Regions from separate parts of the Homo sapiens genome. Here region 2 is linked to region 1. The links are contacts of gene promoters, found by promoter capture Hi-C in human tissues and cell types (Jung and others, 2019). All regions are on one chromosome and are shown on one strand. The core of a region is centred on a gene start or on the middle of the fragment in contact, and the rest is flanking DNA. Distances in the headings are between cores, read along the strand shown.

Evidence for each region. The method cuts DNA at HindIII sites, captures the fragments that hold promoters and counts their contacts. A contact is called where the count stands out against the background at its distance.
Region 2: a fragment that was not itself captured here is called in contact with the fragment with the promoter of USP2 in region 1 in 1 of the 25 tissues and cell types used here (dorsolateral prefrontal cortex).

Annotation. Positions count from the first base shown.
Region 1 is chr11:119,379,929-119,383,168 of GRCh38, forward strand. USP2 (ubiquitin specific peptidase 2) reads right to left here and starts at 1,762. Exons shown (of 13, transcript NM_004205.5): 1 at 1,545-1,762. USP2-AS1 (USP2 antisense RNA 1) reads left to right here and starts at 1,850. Exons shown (of 4, transcript NR_034160.1): 1 at 1,850-1,980. RefSeq lists an enhancer at 840-1,829. The HindIII fragment of the contact is 18,363 bases long and covers 1-3,240 here.
Region 2 is chr11:120,191,268-120,194,507 of GRCh38, forward strand. It overlaps LOC105369530 (a long non-coding RNA gene), which reads left to right. Exons shown (of 3, transcript XR_948101.2): 3 at 1-4. Among named protein-coding and RNA genes, the nearest start is that of OAF, 18 kb to the right of the region's middle. The HindIII fragment of the contact is 5,099 bases long and covers 1-3,240 here.

The sequences.
Region 1 (3,240 bases), core at 512-3,011:
TTTTTTTTGAGACGGAGTCTCCGTCGCCCAGGCTGCAGTGCAGTGGCGCGATCTTGGCTCACTGCAAGCTCCGCATCCTGGGTTCACGCCATTCTCCTGCCTCAGCCTCCCGAGTAGCTGGGACTACAGGCTCCCGCCAGCACGCCCGGCTAATTTTTTTGTAATTTTAGTAGAGATGGGGTTTCACCGTGTTAGCCAGGATGGTCTCGATTTCCTGACCTTGTGATCCGCCCGCCTTGGCCTCCCAAAGTGCTGGGATTACTGCACTTTGAGCCACTGCTCCCGGCCGGAAGTGTGCCTTTCTAATGCCAGAGAACAGTCCCTTGGTTTTCTGAACTGACCATGTCCCATAACTGGGAAGGGCAAACAAGGCTTGCCATCTTCCTAGACGTCCAGTCCACCAAGCAGAGAAAGGCCAAGCCCATCTGGGCTCCTTCCCCCTTTGCCTAGAAAAATACGGCAAGTGCAGCTTCCCCCAGGCCACCAGGAGAATGCTTGGCCCCTCTGGGGTGGTTCCACTCTACCTGTGGGAGGGCTCAGGATTCCAGGGCCACAGAGCCGGGCTGGGCAGGGTCACAAGAGGAAGGAACGGGGTTCTTAGCCTCTCTGGCCTTGGTGCACTTGTCTGCTCCCAGGACGTTTCTCGATGGCTCTCCCCGAGGACTGGGAGTACCCAGCCTGGTGCCTCCACCCTGTCTTAGCACAGGCTACTGACTCAGCCCAGGTCCTAATGATGCACTTCAGAGGACGCCCTCATTCCAGTCCTCATTCTGACTCCAGTCTGACATGCATCTACAGCATCAAAGGAGGGGGCCTGCCTCGACCTTAGCCCAATCAGCTCTCCTTTCCTCTGCTTTACGGGGGTCCATCTGGGGGATGTTCTCATGCCCATTCCAGGGGAGGTGAGCAGCCCCTACCACTACCTCCAGCTCAGTCCCATTCTAAAGGCAGCCAGGTCAGGAGGTAGGATGTTCACTCTTCAGGGAAGGGCTAGAATGGGTTGGCTAGGGCTTCCCTTGACTGTTGAGAAGTTGCTCTCTCCGGAGCACCGCGTGCCTGCTTCTGGTTTGGGACTGGTGAGAATTTCAAAGCTGCCTCTTTCTGGTTTGGGATTGGTGGAAAATCTCCCCTTCCGCTTAATTGTTGCCCAACCCCCGCCCCTAACCCCCTTTAGCAAACTGACCGGGGAGCTTTAAGAGCAGCGAGTGAGCTGCACGCACACGTGGGGAGGGGGTTTGTCAGTGTCGCTCAGGCCACATACCACCGATATACACGGGGCACAGCGAGGAGGACCCGCCAAAGCAGCATTTCCTTAGAATACACTGATCAGCACACAGTTGGCTCTTCCTGGCACCCTGGGCTGTCAGCAGGCAGCCCTCACACAACTGGCAGACACAGCTGGAGCGTCCCTGCACAGCCGGCTCTCTCCCTATATTTCTAGTGTCCACTCTGCCCAGAATGTCGTGGACACCTTACTTTCTGAGCTCCAAACCGGCACTGATCCCCGAATCCCCCCTCCCGGATCCCCGACAGGTGGCACGTACCTGCCTCTTCTTGGAGTATGGACGAGTCGAACCGGGCACAAGCATGGAGCTGCGGGTGAGTCCCGGCTGGCGCTGGCGCGGCGCAGTGAGCACCAGCTGACGAAGAGGGCTCCCCGGCCTCGGCTCCTGCCTGACTCTCTCCCACCTCCGCCGGGGGCCCAGAAGGGACCTCCCCGGGAAATCGGCGCCACCCAGCGGGCAGCCGCCTCATCGCGCCTGGGCCGGCAGAGCCACACCCCGCGTCTCGCGTCACTGAGTCGCGTCACGGCTATTGGCTTGTTCCTACTGTGGCGTCATTAGAGCCCGGCCTCCGGCTGGGGCCACCCAGGCAACCGATATACACAGAGAACCACGTGGAGGAAAAGCACGCGAGTTTGGAGCGGGTGGAGCAGGAACAGAGGTGGACTGGAATGTCACACGACGGGGCAGCTGGAAGGTATTGGGAAAGAAGAGGCGTCATGGGAGAAGGCTCGGAACTTGAGCCCTGGGGCGTATCAACTTTCAGTTTTTAGGGAAGGCTAAACGTCCCCCACTCCCCTTCTCACTGGGCTGGGGGAGGTCCTGTTCCTCAGCCTCTTCTCTTTTTCTCTGCTGTCAAAGACACTCTCCGCTCATTTTACTTTCATGGGACCAGTGATTAGTGATGAATGCCTGAGTGGGTAAACGGAGGCACTGAGTCAATGAAAGAATTCTCTTTGGTCTTTTCAAGAAAAAGCCGAGACAAAACTTGAATTTTTGCTGCTCCCATTCCTTTTATGTAACCTTCTCCCGACTCCCCCGATGTTGATGAGGAAAATCGCACAACCAGGTAGCTGGGTACCAAGGCGAATCCAGGTTTTCAACTTCAGCTGCTCCATCAACCCTTGCAGCTGCCGTTAACTCCTCCCATCTTCACCATAGATCTCTCTCTCCATCGCTACTCTCCTCAAGTCCTTCCTTCTCTTCTATTTCCCAGAGAAATCAGACGCAATCAAGAGGGGAATTCTTAAATTTCTACCTACAAACATGTCTGAATCCATTCTTATCAGGAGCAGTGAAAGAGGCACCCCTGTTCTTGTCCAAGGCACGATTCCCTTCTTGATTTCAACTCTTGTTTTGTTTTTGTTTTTGTTTTTTGTTTTTTTGAGACGGAGTGTCGTCGCTCTTGTTGCCAAGGCTGGAGTGCAATGGCGCGATCTCAGCTCACTGCAACCTCCAGGTTCAAGCAATTCTGCCTCAGCCTCCCAAGTAGCTGGGATTACAGGCGTGCGCCACCACGCCAGGCCGATTTTTTTTTTATAGAGTCTTGCTCTGTTGTCCAGGCTGGAGTGCAATGGCATAATCTCGGCTCACTGCAACCTCCTCCTCCCGGGTTCAAGTGATTCTTGTGCCTCAGCCTCCCCCGAGTAGCTGGGATTACAGGAGCCCACCACCACGCCTGGCTAATTTTTGAATTTTTAGTAGAGACAGGGTTTCACCGTGTTGGTCAGGCTGGTCTTGAACTCCTGACCTCAGGTGATCCACCAGCCTCAGACCCCCAAAGTGCTGGGATTACAGGTGTGAGCCACTGCACCCGGCCCCAGCTAATTTTTTGTATTTAGTAGAGATGGGGTTTCACCATGTTATATTTCCTTAGGGCCCTCATTCCATCACTTCATTTTACAGATGGATATTGGACATGCCAGTCACTCTTCTAGAAACTGGGGATATAGCAGGG
Region 2 (3,240 bases), core at 417-2,916, 810 kb after region 1:
GAAGCGGGAGGAGGGGAGGAGCTGGCTCCAGTGATTGCTAAGGTCCTGTCGAGCTCTGCATTTGTTCCCTGGAGCCTCCCTAATTTCCAGACTCTAAAGTTCTGAATTCTCCCTGCTGTCCCATCTTACTCTCAACCAAGGGGAGACCAGGGAGGAGGAAACTGGGCTCCCCCTGAACACACTGGCTGTCTGGCAGCTGAGAATGGCCTCAAGCAGGGAGAGAGGATGGGGCTTCCCAAGTGCTAGGGAGAGCAAAGGACCCAACTTGTGCTTACAACTGCTCCCTCTATGAACAGGCAAGAGATGGAGGCTGGGGGGCGGGGCCCAACCAGGGGGGCTGATTTGAACCCTGACTCCTCCTACTGCGTGTTTATTATTCTATCTTCATTTTCATTCATTTATGTGCTTGTGCAGCAAACATTTGTAGGGCCACTATTCTGTGCCAGGCACTGTCCTGGGTGTCGGGAATACAGACATGAGGACGTTCACAGCCTCGTGGGAGACGACAAGAGATGTAAACAGATGGTTCGCACATAGAGTGAGAAGCAGGGGGACAGGAGCTCTCCTGAGTACTGCATCCTGACTACTGGGTGCCACAGAGCACAAAGGAGGGTCCGCACCCAGCCAAGGGGGCCTCTCTCTCCTTAAACATCACAGTCAGCTTGCTGAGATGATGGGAAATACAGGAATCGCTTGGTGCCCAACAGCTTAAGGGGTGGTAAAGAAAAAACATCCAAGAGAAAGGTTCCTGGGTGGGATAATTAATGTTTTGACGAGGAGGAAAATATTAGTGTGTGTTGCTCAGCATGCAAACACCTCAACTAACAAAACGGCTCGGAGAAAACAAGTGGAACGGTGGGGTTTTTCTCACAAAGATTTTTTTTTTTTTTTTGAAAAAAAAGAAGAGAAGAGAAAAAGATGGCAGTCACAAATAACCTCCCGCAGCTGAAAGACATTCCCCACCGGGTGAGGAAAGCAGGGCCCAGCTCAGTAGAGAATCTTGCTGCTGCTCCTTCCTGCAGATGGCCGACCTGGCACTTAGACCCAGAGCCCCAGCTCCTGACCCACGCTGCCATTTCAAGGCACTCCTCCCAGTTGCTGAGGCAAGGGGGAGTTCTGCACACACCAGTTGAGCATTTTAAGGAAAAAGAGATGGCCGGGCACGGTGGCTCATGCCTGTAATCCCAGCACTTTGGGAGGCCGAGACGAGAGGATCACGAGGTCAGGAGATCGAGACCATCCTGGCTAACACGGTGTAAACCTCGTCTCTACTAAAAATGCAAAAAAATTAGCCGGACGTGGTGGCGGGCGCCTATAGTCCCAGCTACTCCGGAGGCTGAGGCAGGAGAATGGTGTGAACCCGGGAGGTGGAGCTTGCAGTTAGCCGAGATCGCGCCACTGCATTCCAGCCTGGGCGACAGAGCAAGACTCTGTCTCAGAAAAAAAGAAAAAAAAGGAAAAAGAGATTTTCCTGATTTGCTAGGGTGCATTCGGTGGTGCCACGTCTAGACAGCTGCCTCCTACCCCAAAGAGTATCTTCTCAGGGAAGGTTACATTGTCTCCGGCTCCTGTACTCAGTGGAAGGGCCAGCTTCCTCTGAGGAGATAAAAGGGTTACTTTTGTTTCTACTTCTGTAAACTGTAAATATGTGCTCAGAATCTCCAGGTGACAGGACAAGCCCCAATGCTCCACTTTTGGAATTGATGCCAAAGCTTGACGGAGCTGCCAATTCATGCAAGAAAGTCCACCGGCACCAGACGGGGTGCTCTTGGCTTGTTTCCAGACCTGCTGCCCTTCCCCAGCTGTAGTTCCGGGGGCATTGCCCCTCAGGGGAGGACTGGTACCAGGCGCCCCTCTGCAAATGGACACACCAACGGTAGAACTGGCTTGGGCCCTCCAGAGACAAAGTTCAGGAAAGATCCTCCTCCCATGATCGGCTCCAGAGTGCTCCAGGGCTGGGGCCTGAGGGAGGAGCTACGAGGCCGGCTTGCGGCTGTGGCAGCATGCTGCTGACCTTGAACTCACCTTGACTACCACCAGAGCGGCCCCAGAGGCAGGCAGGGGCCAGTCCTCCGCTGTGTTGGGACCAGAGGGAGCACACAGAGCCAGAGAAGTCCAGAGTCCTCACCCTTCACTGGGACAGGATGGGACCTGGGTCTTGCCAACCAGCTTGGGCAAAGGTAAACCTTCTTTGTGTGCCCCAGGGAGGCTCAGAGCCAGCAGTCCCCACTGTATGGGGCCTGTGCGGGGAGAGGGTTCAGATGTGCCTCACGGCTGCTGCTGGCCGATCCCAAGGTCTTCTTCCACCAGAGGCACCTCTGCCTCCTTGGCCAGCAAAGGTTGCCACATGTGGCCACCCTTCCCTGCTTCCTGCCTCCCCCCATTTGCACCCCAGGTGTGAACACTCTTCTCATGGGTGTTTACATGCCTACTCGAACACCACAGGCAAGTCCTTGGCCAGCCAGCTCCTTTCCACCCTAGACCCCACAGGTCAGGGTCAGGGACTCCCCACCTTTTATACAGTGGGGAGAGAGTAGAACCTGTGCTCTCAAAGTCAGAGTGGGCCTGCACTAGAATCCCAGCTTTGCCAGATACCATTTGGTCTTGACAACTTCTTTAACATTTTCTGAACAGTAACATAGCAAAAATGCTTAGTTCACAGATGTGTTGTATTAGATGAGACCATCTTTCTTTAAAAAAAAAAAAAAAAAGAAGCATCCCATTGAAGTTAGCTCCCTTCTCCTCCCATATTAAGTCAGGTTCCTAGCAAAGAGACTCTGAGAGCTTTGCATCATTTATTGGAATGCTGTGGGGATGAACCCCTGTAGGGGAAGTGGAGAGAACAGGCTTGGGTTGGGGGAAACATTGGACGTTGGATGTTGGCTGTGAAGTTGCAACCAAGGCCTTTGCCAACCCCATGGGGACTCTGGGGCTCTGCAGAGATATCCCACATTAAGGCAAGAGGGCCAGGCCTTTGTAATCCTCACCAACATGTCATTGGGTGCAAGGCGTCACTGGGTACAACATGTCACTGGGTGCAACATGGCTAACCATGTGCTAGGGCTGAAGCAGTGGCCCTCCTGGCCTGCTCCCCTCCTCCACCGCCACCCCTGCTCCTGCCCCTGGGAGGTCTCAGCTGCTGCATTCATCCGTCATCTGCACCCTCAAGAAGGGCCATAACTGTGAGCATCTCCCTTCAGCTGAGGGCAATTTCAGAGAGACAGAGCTGTGCACCTTCCC